4 separate regions of the Homo sapiens genome follow, and regions 2, 3 and 4 are each linked to region 1. Evidence: promoter capture Hi-C in human tissues and cell types (Jung and others, 2019). All regions are on one chromosome and are shown on one strand. Each heading gives the region's core, a stretch centred on a gene start or on the middle of the fragment in contact. The rest is flanking DNA. Distances are from core to core; before and after follow the strand shown. Region 1 holds the start of MANF (mesencephalic astrocyte derived neurotrophic factor). Region 2 holds the start of CACNA2D2 (calcium voltage-gated channel auxiliary subunit alpha2delta 2). Region 3 overlaps DOCK3 (dedicator of cytokinesis 3). Region 4 overlaps DOCK3 (dedicator of cytokinesis 3).

The links. The method cuts DNA at HindIII sites, captures the fragments that hold promoters and counts their contacts. A contact is called where the count stands out against the background at its distance.
Region 2: a contact is called between the fragment with the promoter of CACNA2D2 here and the fragment with the promoter of MANF in region 1, in 2 of the 25 tissues and cell types used here (lymphoblastoid cells and thymus).
Region 3: a contact is called between a fragment that was not itself captured here and the fragment with the promoter of MANF in region 1, in 1 of the 25 tissues and cell types used here (dorsolateral prefrontal cortex).
Region 4: a contact is called between a fragment that was not itself captured here and the fragment with the promoter of MANF in region 1, in 2 of the 25 tissues and cell types used here (bladder and dorsolateral prefrontal cortex).

What each region holds. Positions count from the first base shown.
Region 1 is chr3:51,383,288-51,386,917 of GRCh38, forward strand. MANF (mesencephalic astrocyte derived neurotrophic factor) reads left to right here and starts at 2,004. Exons shown (of 4, transcript NM_006010.6): 1 at 2,004-2,149; 2 at 2,921-3,048. The coding sequence starts at 2,056. DOCK3 (dedicator of cytokinesis 3) reads left to right here. Exons shown (of 53, transcript NM_004947.5): 53 at 1-911. RefSeq lists an enhancer at 1,420-1,769 and a silencer at 1,830-2,199. The HindIII fragment of the contact is 5,502 bases long and covers 304-3,630 here.
Region 2 is chr3:50,501,946-50,505,575 of GRCh38, forward strand. CACNA2D2 (calcium voltage-gated channel auxiliary subunit alpha2delta 2) reads right to left here and starts at 1,689. Exons shown (of 38, transcript NM_006030.4): 1 at 1,273-1,689. The coding sequence starts at 1,478. RefSeq lists enhancers at 1,800-2,308, 2,309-2,817. The HindIII fragment of the contact is 18,854 bases long and covers 1-3,630 here.
Region 3 is chr3:50,693,793-50,697,422 of GRCh38, forward strand. The region is part of intron 1 of DOCK3 (dedicator of cytokinesis 3); the gene reads left to right. Among named protein-coding and RNA genes, the nearest start is that of MIR4787, 21 kb to the left of the region's middle. The HindIII fragment of the contact is 5,759 bases long and covers 1-3,630 here.
Region 4 is chr3:50,710,164-50,713,793 of GRCh38, forward strand. All of the region lies in intron 1 of DOCK3 (dedicator of cytokinesis 3), which reads left to right. Among named protein-coding and RNA genes, the nearest start is that of MIR4787, 37 kb to the left of the region's middle. The HindIII fragment of the contact is 4,993 bases long and covers 1-3,630 here.

The DNA of each region.
Region 1 (3,630 bases), core at 754-3,253:
CAGGTTCACTCCAGGCAGAGTGGGGCGGAAGGCTGCTGAGGATATGGGTCAGTTACAGCAGCCCTCACCTCAAAGGGCTGGCCTGCTTCTCAGCCTACATTCATTTGCAAGCTTCAATCTCTGGACCATCTGGTGTTCACAGGTGTTAGAGGGTTAGGGGTTAGGGGCTAGTTTTGGATTTGATTCATAGGTAGGAGGGCTTAGATTTTAAGGCACTTCTGAAAGTCAATCCCTGGACAAGGCAGTCATCACATAAGAACAGCTACCTTCTCCACTTGGTGGCACAAGAGGTAGGGAGGGGAGTATGGGTTCATTTGGCTTCGCATTATGCAAGGTGAAACCGTTTGTTTTCCCTCTCCATTTTCCCTAACTAAATGAAAAGGACACATTCTGAAATCCCTTTTGTTGGAGAATAAGTCAGTCTGAGGGGAAATGGGAGGCCAGAGATGAGAACCCTTTGAAAAGATTGTAAAATACTGATTTTCATTCTTTCAAGCTTATTTGTAAATACCTATTTGAATGCTGTGTATTTGTACAGGAATTTGAGCAAAAAATGTATAGAGTGTGATGTCCAATTGGTATTCAGCACTATAAATGTGTTTTTAACCTCCCGCATTCTGTGCTTATTTAAAACAAGGAAACTTCTAACCATTTCTTTTGTGTATTCATGTTTAAAGAAAAAAAGTGATTTAAAAATGATCTTACCTGTACCAGAAAAGCAAAGTTAAAGGAAACAAAATTTGTACCATTGTCCCAAGAGGTATTTTACTGTATATATTGTGGTAGCATGTTCAAAATCCAACAAGTAATGTGAATTTTAGATGTAAATATCTGCCACTTGATTTTTTTTCCCCCTTTCCCCACTTCCTTGACTGCTGTGATGTGAATTAAAGATAAATACGTGATACTGATCCACTGAATTCACTGAATGGGAGCAGAGGATGTGCCCCTCTCCAACCCTTGTCGCCGGGCTCCAAGCCCTTTTTAGCCCTATAGACATGTCCTTTTTGCACTGAGTAGAGCCAACGGTTCCCGCATCCTGCCTTGAAGGCAGGCAGCCAGGAGGGCACTTGAAAGGAGGGCAGTCGAAAAGGAAACATCCTCCAGTGCTTCTCTGGTGATTCCCGGGACCCCACTCAGGAGGTCCCACGGCAGCGGGGGACCCCGAGGGCCTAGCCGGGGAGGCAGGAGGAGGCTGGCCAGCCACCAAGCCACGATTCAGAGCTTGTAAGGGCACCTCCCGAGCCCCTCACCTTCCCACTCTGAGGCGACCCCATGTCCTCGACCGATGATCTGGCCCGGGCGCTTCCCTCCACGGTCTAGAGTGGCGGCCCAGCTTTGAGCTTGGCGCGCCTTGAGCCCTTCCTTCAGATGTCCCGCAGTCCGTCCACCCCGCACGTCTCCTATCAGCCTATGCACGGCGGGCTCCGGTCAGGTGGAGGATCAGCAGGTGGGCTTTCAAAGGTTGGATCCGTTGCCCACGCGAATGAAAGAAGAAAAAAGAAACCTCTTTGAGCCTTGCCTGCGGCCGCCCGCCCTTCCTGCCTAACCTGTTGTCTTGGCTGACCCCAGAACTCCTGCACCACGAGTCGGAGTCCGGGCGAGGAGATCAGCAGGGGTTTTCGAGGGAGCCTGGGGCCCAGGGCAGGGGTACGCGGGTCAACTCAACAGATGTAAGGCGTGGCCGAACCCCATTCAGCTAGCAGTACCCAGCCTCAGCCACAGTCGCTGCCCTTACCCAAGATGGCGGCCCACACCGCTTCCGTCGCTGCTGTAGTCGCTTCCTGCGGCCAGCCCGGGTTCAATCAGCGGCCGACAACTGTCTAGGGCTCAGACACCACCAGCCAATGAGGGAGGGCAGCGTGGAGCCGCCCGTCTGGGCTCGCGGCTCCTGGACCAATGGGGAAGTGGCATGTGGGAGGGCGCCGGGGGGCCCCCCGCCAATGGGGAGCTACGGCGCGCGGCCGGGACTTGGAGGCGGTGCGGCGCGGCGGGTGCGGTTCAGTCGGTCGGCGGCGGCAGCGGAGGAGGAGGAGGAGGAGGAGGATGAGGAGGATGAGGAGGATGTGGGCCACGCAGGGGCTGGCGGTGGCGCTGGCTCTGAGCGTGCTGCCGGGCAGCCGGGCGCTGCGGCCGGGCGACTGCGAAGGTGCGGGATAGGGGGCCGGGGGCCGCGCTCCGTGACCGTTCTGGCGGCGGCGCTGAACCCCACAACATCACCAGACGGCCGGGGCCAAGAGGGCGAGGGCGGGGGCGGGGGCGGGGGCGACAGCAGGTCCCCGCGGGGCCTGCATGAGGAGGCTCCGGCGCCCGCCCTAGTAAATCTTTCTTGGGCCTAGAAAACATTGGTCCGACGAAGAAAAGTTGAGACTAGATCCCGTTGAAAACTTGTCCTGAAATCTCCATCACTCCTGAGTTATTGTCCCCACCACCATCTAGAGGTTACCGCTCCCCGTTCGGCGTCGGGAGCTCCAGGGCTGGCCGTGGGTGCTGCGCCCTGTCTGTTGGGATCACGAAGCTGCACCTCTGGGTCCGCTGTTGTATTTGGAAATTAGCAGCAGCATTTTGATCATTTTTCTCTTCACCTTCCAGTCTCTCCATTTATGAGGTCACAGTGAGTCCCGTCTCAAGGACACGTGTTCACCATGGGCTTAAACTTGATGAAAGGAGCAGGGAGAAGTCGTTTATAGGTCATTGGGTGATGCTTGGTCCTTTGATGCCCTGGGTGTACCAGGGGACCCCCGCCACTTGGAACCGGGTTCTGTCTACCTGTAGACACCTGAGAAAAATCGGTGATGGAAAAGCTCACCTCTAATGATTCATCTCCGTGTCTCCTATTAAAATTGCTGGCGGAGTTCTTTTCTGGTGGATTGGAACAGCTTGGTGATTGCTGAGCATCTCCCGTCCCTCTCTTTTCCAGTTTGTATTTCTTATCTGGGAAGATTTTACCAGGACCTCAAAGACAGAGATGTCACATTCTCACCAGCCACTATTGAAAACGAACTTATAAAGTTCTGCCGGGAAGCAAGAGGCAAAGAGAATCGGTTGGTAAGTAGCTGGTGATCCTCCCCAACTGGCCCTGGCTCATGTTAACCCTCGGCTTCACCAGCCGTTTGATAAAAGGCCTTGCCCACCTCTCTGTTCAGGAAGCCAGCTACTCTCTCCATAAACTAATGTGAGAAGACTGAAGTGCTTCTATGTCCTTCCCAAAGCAGCATGTGTTCTGCAACTGTGATTTTTTTTTATCCTGTTAGTCTTTATTAAGCACCTACTATGTGCTAGGCACTGGGAATATCAGGGGAAAGAAGTGACAGTCGGACACACAAATAATGCAATGTCTGGGTGTCATGAAGAAAATGGACCAGCAGGTGCTGATTTAGAGTGGCCAAGAAGTCTCTGAGGAAGGGTTATCATTGAAGTGGGGTAAGACCATCCCATACAGGGAACAGCAGTGTGAGTGCCCAGAGGCCTGAAAGAGTGTGGCATGTATGTGGACAGGAGAAGGTGACAGGGTGCCTACAGGATAGGCAAGGGCCGAATCCAAGACAAAAGCCCTAGTGAAGCAATGGGTTTTCTAACTTGAATTTCTCTGACAGTCTCTGGCTTTTCTCTCTGTTAAAGGTTTGAACC
Region 2 (3,630 bases), core at 439-2,938, 880 kb before region 1:
TTGCCAACTGATCACCTGCCTGAGCACAGCCAGGCTGTGCAATGAGAGAGACGACAAGACGGAGAGAGAGACCCAGAGAGGCGGTTTTCCTGAGTTTGTTTTTCCCTCATCTTAGAGAGCCTACGAACTGGAGTCGGCAGGTTTTGTGGCAGAACCAGGGGCTCTTACCCTTGGGCAGAGCTGGTTTAAATGACGCAGAGCCAGCCTCTCCCTTTCCCCGAGGCCAGACCCTTCCCCTTGGCCACCAGCAGCCCGACGACTCATGCCCCAGTCTCCAGGCCAGGACACTGGTGAAGGAGTCCAGGGACAGGTGGCTCCTCAGACCCGGAGACAGATAACAGAAGCAAGGTGGTCACCGTGCCCCAAAGGGGGTCTGGGCACTGACATAGGGCTGAAGCACAGTGTCAGGAAACTGATACGTCCTAAAGGCCACATGCACTGAACATCCACTCCCAGCCCCAGACACATCTGGCTAAGCTCACCCGTAGGAGGCAGCCCGAGTTTGCTGGCTCTTGGGGAGGAGGAGAAGGCTCAGAAGGACCAAAAAACCTGCGGAGGCTGGCAGAGCCAGGAGAAGCTATTACTCTGTTGGCAGCAGCAGCAGGCGCAGGCAGGGGTCCTTCCCACCATTCACCTTCTGCCCGGACCCCAACGCCTTCACCTCCCAACTGGGCTCTCCAGGGTACTCTCTCCTCAGGTGGAGGGGGGCCAAGAACAGGGGACACTGCCTCTGTGGCACTGGCCACAGCAAGAAGGTGCTCGCATCATCAGCATACAGCTCCCCACTAAAGGAAAAGGCCCTTGAAGGCAGGTGTGGAGATGTCCCTCACCTCTGGCTGTAAAGCGCCGGATTCCCACCAGGGAGGGAACGTGGGGCAGATGCGCGGCTCCAACTCCGCCGGACAGGGGTCGCTGGCCGCCCCTCTCACCCAACCCGGGTTTCCCTCTCACCGGGTCAGCGGCAGGGGAATCAGCTGACAAGCTCGGACCGCCCCCCCCCAACTCCTCCCGGGGCTTGAAGATCTTGCCTTGCCTCATTCGGGGGATTTGGGGGAAGCAGGGGCACCGCGGGGAAGTTTCGCGACGCAGCCAGAGCGCCGGGACCGCGGCTGCCAGCCTTCGGGGCTTGGGGCCGTCGCCCCCGGGCGCAGCGGGCAGCCGGACCCAGCGCCTCTGCCCTGGCGCGGAGCGCAGGGAAGGAGTAGCGCGGACCGGGGGCAGAGCGGGGCGCAAGGCTCGGCCGGGGTCTCGCGGCCGGCCGAGGCCACTTACGTGTGCTGCTGGGGGAAGCTGTAGGCAGAGGCGCCGGGGGCGGCGAGCAGCGGTAGAAGCGGCAGCAGCAGCCACAGCGGGCGCGGGGGCCCGGACGTCGGGCGCCGGGTGCCGGGGCCAGGGTGGGGGCCGCAGCCGGGCCAGGGGCGCGCAGTCCGCGCTGGGCCGGGCCGAGAGGCGCCGCAGGTCCGAGCCGGCACCGCCATGTTTCCATTCAAGATGCGGCGCCGCGGGGAGGGGGGGCAGTGGCGGCGGCGGCGGCGGCGGCGGGGTTGGGGGGGCGCGGGCGGCGGGCGGTAACTCGGCCTCTCCTCCGCCGCCGCCTTCTCCGCGAGGGGCCTCCGGGGCTGCACGGGCCGCAGCGCCTCTGCGGGCTGCGCGCTGCTATCTCCCTGCAGCGCTGGCTCCAAGCGCTCTGAGCGCCCGGCCCGGGACCTGCGCTCAAATAGCAGCCGCCGCCAACCTGCCGGCACCGCCCTCTTCTCTCCCTCCCTCCCTCTCTCTTCCCGGGCTGGCCCGCCCCCGCGCGCCCCCGCCGCGGCCACGCGCCCACCCGTGCCCGCGCGCCTCTCGTCCCCGCGCAGCCCGAATCCTGCCCTACTGGCTCGGGCGTCCTGCGCCCCAGCTGCTACCCGAGCGCCCCGGGTGCGCCCCCGCCCCCACACCTCAGACCCTGCCGCTCCTCCCCACCCCACCCGCGGGAAGAGTCCCGGGCCCCGCGGCCCAAGGCAGGAGCATATGTGACCCTTTTGGGGGCTCGACCTTCAACAGGCTTAAGGCCTAGAGTCACAGGTTTAATGGTGGAGTGACAGCTTCAGCGGAGACCAGAAAAGGAGGCATGCTGAACTTACAGCCCCCGTGGCTCTAGCTATCTTTAAGATTTCTCTCTGTCGGGGGCTTGCACGCCCGGCTGCTGGCAGAAAGGGCCTGGACCTCCTGGTTCCCTAAGCGGAAACCTGGGCACGGCTGTACGGTTGTGGGGGGCTGGGGACGGCAGGATGCAGCCCTCTGCAGCCACTCGCTTCGCTTCCCTGGGCTGAACAGGCACTGTGTGCAGGCCTGTCCCAAGCCCCAGTTCCCGGAGTTTGCACAGCCTCTGTTTAGATTCTTCCAGAGCCAGGAAGCTCATCTCTGCACAACCCAGTCCTTTCTGTCCTGGAGGCCCCTGGCTCTTCCCTGCTGTGGGCAGAAGACTGGGGCTGGTGTCAACCTTGACTCCACAGCTTGTGGCCCTTTCAGAGCCTCAGTGTCCTCGCTTGTGAATGCTTGTGTGGGTGCCCACTCCCATTTCCAGGATGAAGTGAGAATGGGGAGAATCTCTTGGTAAACTGAAGCATTCACAATGAGGGGAGACCATCCCTAGGATTCTACTGAAGTTACCCTGGAACCCAGCTCTGCCTCTGGTGCAGATAGGATGAGAGAATGCTCCCCACCAACTTGACACAGGGCAGGACCCCCTCAGCAATAACTGCCCACAGACCTGGCCTATCACGAGGAATGAGGGATAGTAACCAGCTGGGCAGGATGGTTCGGAAATGTCCAGATGCCCCACCTCATGGTATCAGTGGCTCTCCTATCACCCACTCACAAGTCAGCCCAAGGAGGGCTTGCAGTTGAAAGGGAATAGTAGCCCCTGGACTGAAAAGGGTAGGGGTAGGGGCTGGAAATAGGGCCTAGGACAGCCTTCCCTTGCTGCCTAGTCCTGCCTTGGCTTCTCCAATCCCAGCAAACCAGGGCTTGACAGGGAACAGTTTCCTTCATTTCTTGAAGTGTCCTCCTCCCTTGACCTGAATGAGCCTTCAGGGGCCAGACAGGTTTGCCAGCAGATCCCAAACCATGAGACCCCAAAAAAAGTATCAGAGGAAGGCAACGCAGGGGCCAGGGGCCTGGTGGACAGGTGGGACCTGATGGACTATGGGAGACGATAGTCCAGCTCTTTGGGGGGACAAGCAGGGTCCTCACTGAGCCAGTTGCCCCCCTGCCACCTCTGGACACAATGGGAGGGCAGGGGGGCAGGGGTCCTGCTCAGGAGTCGACAAGCGTGAGCTCAACAGCTGCCTTCCCAGCCCTGCCTGCTGAGACCTGTTCCCAGCATCTCTGTCTTCCTCATGCCCAAGGTAGGGCTGGCCTGTGATATCCTCTCTTACCTGTTTGCTGGACATATAATACCTGTGCCCATGGCCCCAGGGGACCATCATAAAGGACATCATTCCTCTTGGGTGCCCTGTCGGGGGTGGGCGCCTTCCCAAGGCAGACTCTGCAGTGGCCTGAGAAATGTGAGGGCCAGCCTCCCTGCCCTCCAACACCAGGGTAGCAACGCTATCCCCAAAGTGCCCAGGCCGTCAGGCACATGAAGTC
Region 3 (3,630 bases), core at 410-2,909, 690 kb before region 1:
TCCCAAAGTGCTGGGATTACAGGTGTGAGCCACCGCACCTGGCCTTCCTTTTCATATCATTCTCATGTTGTTCGTATACAGAAATACAACTGGTTTTTGCATGTTGATTTTATGTCCTGCAACTGCTGAATTCATTTATTAGCTCTAATAGGCCTTAAACAAATACTTTAAGGTTTGCTACATACAAAATTGTTGGCCAAGTGTGGTGGCTCACGCCTGTAATCCCAGCACTTTGGGAGTCTGAGGCAGGAGGATCACCTGAGGTCAGGAGTTTCAGACCAGCCTGGCCAACATGGCAAAACCCTGTCTCTACTAAAAATACAAAAAATTAGCCAGGCGTGGTGGCGGGCGCCTGTAATCCCAGCTACTGGGGAGGCTGAGGCATGAGAATCGCTTGAACCCAGGAGGTGGAGGTTGCAGTGAGCTGAGATTGCGCCACTGCACACCAGCCTGGGGGATAGAGCGAGACTTTGTCTCCAAAAAAACTAAAAAAAAAATAAAAATAAAAAGAATGGTAAGAGTTTCTAATACTTAGAGGCAGATATCCTTAAAAATGGAGATTTCCTTTATAGATTTAGATTTCTTTTACAAAAGAGTTTCAGGATAGCCAATTAAATTCCAGAAAAGTGTATTTTAGTTCAATAGGGTATTCTTTTTAACATAGCTACTGTTTCTTAGCTAAAATTACTGAGTTCAGAGTAATGGGTGGAGCGCATTAAAGAATGGGGCCAACAGGCTGGGTGCAGTGGCTCACGCCTGTAATCCCAGCACTTTGGGAGGCCAAAGCGGGCAGATCACTTAAGGCCAGGAGTTTGAGACTAGCCTTGCCTGCATGGTGAAACTCTGTCTCTACTAAAAAAATACAAAAATTTGCTGGGCGTGGTGGTGCATGCCTGTAATCCCAGCTACTTGGGAGGCTGAGGTATGAGAATCACTTGAACCGGGGAGGTGGAGGTTACAGTGAGGCTGAGATCACTCCACTGCACTCCAGCCTGGGCGGCAGAGCCAGACTCTGTCTCAAAACAAACAAACAAAAAAACAAATGAAAAACAAAAAAACAAACAAAAAGAACTCAGTATAAATAGATCTGAAAAAGAAGCAAGCCTATTTTACTTGAGGGCCTACCTTCATAAATACCTTATATAGGATAGCTTTCTTTTTCCCTTTGGGGCAGGCTAGTAACTAAGCCGAAAGGTTAGCAGATTTAATTTTGTTTTAAATCAATTAGTCACTTAAGGTTTTTATTTGCCTTTGATAACGTCTTTAGATAAAAATAATGCAATCTTTTTAGAAGCTTCTACATATCAGTAGGCATCCCTAGATAAGACTAATTTGGGAGCCCCCAATCACATGCACTTCTGTTCAGTGTTGTTCATTCGGATAAGCACTGTAACTTATCTTTAGTAAGATTTCACCATTTCTGTAAGACTTTGCTGCCTCCAGGGCTTAATACTTATGCATGTATAAGCCAGAAGGAACTCAGTTCTTCACAAATTAAGGAGCCTGTTTTTACCTCAAATACTGGCTTTGCTCTCAGGTTCCCCTGATCAACTTAGCTAGTGATTTTTTTTCTATCTAAGTGCACAAGAAAAATGAAACAAAGAGGGTAGAATGCACAAATCCCTGTGAATTTCCAAAAGCCAAATTTTATACCCCCTCCAATATTGCCATTTACTACTGGTTTCTTTCTGACCCAGTCAGATGTAAGAGGCCTCTAACTGGATCCAGCCCAATTAATATCAGATGTAATCTGATCCTAGACCTAGTCCAGTTTCTGTCATGACCTCCAAACCCAGTTTGGATCAGAAATTTGCTCAAAGAGACTCAAAGAGCGCTAAGCACAAATCTGTGGAACTTTGGAATGCGAGAGAGAACTTTCCACAATCCTCAGCTGTTCTGAGAGAGGAATGGACACAATGGGCCTGGTGGGTATCTCGCTTGGTCACTCAGTGCTCCTGGGGGTCGCTAGAAGCTCTACTTCGGATCCCACTTCTGACACCATCTGTTAAAAGAAAAACTTCAGCTGAATTCAATTTAAAAGACTGTAATTGAGCAAAGAATGATTCACAAATTGGGCAGCCTTCTGAGCCAGAGTAGGCTCAGTGACTCCAGCACAGCCATGTGGTAGAGGAGGATTTATGGACAGAAAAAGGAAAGTGATGTACAGAAAATGAAGTGAGGTACAGAAATAGCCAGATTGGTTATAGCCTGGGGTTTGTCTTACTTGAACACGGTTTGAACAGAATCAGGTCCTTAAGGCATCAAGACCTCTGTGTCTCCATTTGATATCTCTGTGTCTATGTGTTGCATTCTTTCTTGCAGTCATTAACTTTTAAAAATTTACTCCTTTTATAATTGGGGACCATAGCTCCTACAGTTCTGGGTACATGTTTACACAGCATGATGGAATAGGAAAGAGCTGTTTCCAGTCAGAAAAACTTCAGGGAATGAATGGTATGGCCCAATCTACTTCATATGCCCAGTTATTGAAGGGGTCCGATTGACAGCCCCACTGAAATCACTAGAGTGGGGGAGTTTTTGTAAAAGGTGAGAGTTAAGGATGCTGGACACAGAACAGTAAGGAGATAAGACTACCTGATGCACATCGAGTTCACAAAGGTATTGTAAATGTCAAACATGTACAATGGATAGAAGTAGGATGTGCTGTAGGAGTTCAGAGCCTGGGGGCGTGCAAGGCAATATCCCTAAGAGTGAAAGTAGAACTGAGTGTTGATGAGTGAATAGGATTTTGTGAGTGAAGAAGAAGCATGAGAGCAAATTCAGGTCACAGGGGACAGTAAGGCATGAAAGATTTGTGCAAGGTGTTTTGGGAGGACCATGTTATTTGCAGCTACCATCTTCCCTTTAATTTAGTGATACTTTTTTGGGGGTGGGGTGGGGTAGGTGTCAATTCCATTTTGAAGATCTGTTAAGTGCTATGGGAAACCCGCATATGCACAAGTAAAATTTTACTAGTCGTGTCAGAATGTTTATGGACTTCTTGTTGCTTGTCTTTGGACTCAGGTTAAGAATCTCTACTTTAAACATTTCAACTTGTCTTTTTTCTCTACATTGTGTGTATACTTTTTAAAGCCTACCTTTAAAGCTCCTGATTTTCTGACACATAGCACTGAATTTTTTTTTTTTTTTTTAAGAGAGAGTCTCACTAACTCTGTTGCTCAGGCTGGCATGCAGTGGCGCTATGTAGGCTCACTGTAACCTCCACCTCCTGGGTTAAAGCAATCCTCCCCCTTCAGCCTCCCGAGTAGCTGGGATTACAGATGTGCACCACCATGCCTGGCTAATTTTTGTATTTTTAGTAGAGACAGGGTGTCACCATGTTGGCCAGGCTGGTCTCAAATTCCTGACCTCAAGTGATCCACCCGCCTCAGCCTCCCAAAGTGCTGGAATTATAGGCGTGAGCCACTGTGCCTGCCCATAGCACTGAATGCTAGTTTCAGAATTTATTTCTGTCGTTTACTTAATTGAAATGAAGAGTTTAAAGGAAAATGCAAGTCTGGGCATGGTGACTCATGCCTGTAATCCCAGCATTTTGGGAGGCCGAGGTGGGTGGATCACCTGAAGTCAGGAGTTCGAGGCCAGCCTGGCCAAAATGGTGAAACCCCGTCT
Region 4 (3,630 bases), core at 839-3,338, 670 kb before region 1:
ATGGGACCTAATTAAACTAAAAAGCTTTTGTACAGCAAAAGAAATAATCAGCAGAGTAAACAGACAACCCAGAGAATAGGAGAAAATCTTTGCAAACTATGCATTCAACAAAGGACTAATATCCAGAATCTACGAGGAACTCAAATCAGCAAGAATAAAAACAAATAATCCCATCAAAAAGTGGGTAAAGGACATGAATAAACAGTTCTCAAAAGACGATATACAAATGGCCAACAAACATATGGAGAAATGCTCAACATCACTATCAGGGAAATGCAAATCAAAACTACAATGAGATACCACCTTACTCCTGCAAGAATGGCCATAATTAAAAAATAATAATAAAAAGATGTTGACGTGGATGTAGTAAAAAGGGAACACTTTTACATTGGTGGTGGGAATGTAAACTAGTACAACCACTATGGAAAACAGAATGGAGATTCCTTAAATAACTAAAAGTAGAAATACCATTTAATTGAGCAGTCTCACCACCCAAAGGAAGTAAGTCATTATATGAAAAAGATACTTGCAGATCCATGTTTATGTGTGCTATAGCAGCACAATTTGCAATTGCAAAAATAAGGAACCAGCCTAAATGCCCATTAACCAATGAGTGTATAAAGAAACTGTGATATGGACAGCATGGACTACTACTCAGCCATAAAAAGGAACAAAATAATGGCATTTGCAGCAACCTGGATGGAGTTGGAGACTATTATTCTAAGTGAAGTAACAGAGGAATGGAAAACCAAATATCATACGTTCTCACTTGTAAGTGGGAGCTAAGCCATGAGGATGTAAAGACATAAGAAGAGGGATAAAAGACTTCACATTGGGCACCGCATACACTGGTCAGGTGATAGGTATACCAAAATCTTAGAAATCTCCAGTAAAGAACTTACCATATAATCAAGAACCACCTGTTTCCCAAAAACTATTGAAATAAAAAAGGCCACTGGCTTTTTTCTTGCATACATATATTGTGATTACTATGGTTTTTGTCCTTTATTAGTATTACATAGTACATTAATTGATTTTCATATGTTGAACTGACCTTGCATTTCCTGGAATAAAAATCCTACTTGTAATGTTGCTTAGTCCTTTTTTTTTTTTTTTGAGACAGAGTTTTGCTCTGTTGCCCAGACTGGAGTGCAGTGGTGTGATCTCAGCTCACTGCAAGCTTTGCCTCCTGGGTTCACATCATTCTCCTGCCTCAGCCTCCCGAGTAGCTGGGACTACAGGTGCCCGCCACCACGCCTGGCTAATTTTTTGTATTTTTTAGTAGAGACAGGGTTTCACCATGTTAGCCAGGATGGTCTCGATCTCCTGACCTCGTGATCCACCCTCCTTAGCCTCCCAAAGTGCTGGGATTACAGGCGTGAACCACCGCGCCCGGCCCAGTCCTTTTTAATATTGCTGGTAATATTTTGTTGAAGATTCTTGTGTTTGTATTAATAAAAAATATTACTTTGTAGTTTTTGTTTGATGTCTTTGTCTTGTTCTGATATTAGGGTAATACTGGCCCCATATAATTAGTTGGGAAATGTTCTTTCCTTTCGTTTTGGAAGAGTTTATGAAGGATTGATATTAATTATTTGAATGTTTGGTAGATTTCTCCAGAGAAGCCATCTGGGCTGTGCTTTTCTGGGCTGTGCTTTTTTTTGTAGGAAGTTTTAAAAGTACTAATTTGATCTTTTTACTTGTTACAGGCATATTCAGATTTTCTATTTCTTCAGTAATTCGTCTCTTTCTAGGAATTTGTCCATTTCACGTAAATTATCTGATTTGGTGTACAGTTGTCCATAATGTTCTTTTATAATCATTTCTTACTTTTATAAGGTAGTTGGTGATGTTCCATGTCTTATTCTTGATTTTAGTAATTTAAGTCTTTTAAAAAAAATCTTGGTCAATCCAACTAAAGGCCTGTCACATTTATGGATCTTTTCAAAAAACCAACTTTCAGTTTTGCCAATTTTCTCTATTTTCCATTTATTTCCTTTACCTTAATCATTGTCATTTTTTCCTCTGCTTGCCTTAGAGTTAATTTTCTATTCTTTTTTCCAGTTTCTTATGGTGAATGTTTAAGTTATTTGAAATTTTTCATCTTTTTTATTAGAGATATTTATAGCAATAAATGTTCTCCTAAGCAGTTCTTTAGCCACCTCTTGTAAGACTTTTTATTTTTATTTTTTGAGACGGAGTCTCGCTCTGTTGCCCAGGCTGTAGTGCAGTGGCATGATCTCGGCTCACTGCAACCTCTGTCTCCCAGGTTCAAGCAATTCTCCTGCCTCAGCCTCCTGAGTAGCTGGAACTATAGGCACCTTCCACCACGCCTGGCTAATTTTTGTATCTTTAGTAGAGTCGGGGTTTTGCCATATTGGCCAGGCTGGTCTCAAACTCCTGACCTCAACTGATCTGACTGCCTCAGCCTCCCAAAGTGCTGGGATTACAGGCATGAACCACCATGTCCGGCCGCCTCTTGTAAGATTTGACAGGTGGTAGTCTCATTTTTATTCATCTCAAAGTCTTTTCTGTTTTTCTTTGTGATTTCCTCTTTGACTCACTGGTTAATTAGGAGTGTGTTGTTTAATTTCCACATATTTGTATATTCCCTAATTTTCCTACTGTTACAGGAGATCGATTATAGTTTGTGTAATTTCAGCCCTTTTACATTTATTGAAGCTTGTTTATGGCATAACAGGCTCTATCAAGTGTTTCATGAGCACTTGATAACTATGCTGCTGTTGTTGGGTGGAATGTTTTGTAATTGTCTCTTAGGCCTAAAACAGACAATGTTTTGCCCTTAATAAGAAATATATGTAGGTCTCTGGTTCTTTCCCAGTTCTTGGAATGATCCCTTTGATGTCCTGGATGGAGCATCAGGGGAGTGCACCTTTGTTAGTTTGAAGATGGGTGAAGAGACATTACTGTACAAAGGGAGATGAGAAAGGAGGAACCAGTATGGTGCCTCAACTTTAAGTGTGTTCTCAGGCAGATTTATTTGAGGAAGTCCTATAAAGGAGACAAAGGATCTGGAAATGGGTTAGCTTAAAACCATTTGTGGTTCTTTATCTTTTAGTAGGACTTTATTTTTCTCCAGGGGTATGTGTGCCCCAGGGTGAAGATAAATTGAAAGGATCTTGTAAAGAGTTAAGGTTAAGGATTTGCTTTTATATGCACTGGGAAACTACTGAAGTTTTAGGAAATAAACATTTTGTTTTAGTGAGGTTAATCTGTAGTATGGATAATGGGAAGAAGAGACTAGAACTATGGAGCTTATTTAGAGTTTATGCAGAAAGAAATTTACATTCAATTCATTAAAAACTTGTTGAGAATTTATTTTGTGTTAGGCATGGGCTGAGCTCCTCTTGTTCAAGAATTCACAATCACATTCAGTGTTTCAAGTACAGTAATTTTGATATGTCTTAGGTATGGTGGTGGCACAAGAAAAGTTACTGTCTATAGTCTGATAAATTATATATATATATATATTTTTTGTTTGTTTGTTTTAGATTCTGAGCTCTGGATGCAGATATCACATACTTACTAGATTTCGCCATTTGGATGTCTCCCAGGGACGTCAACTACATGTCTAGATGGAGATCATGATCTTTAGTCATCTCCAGTCTG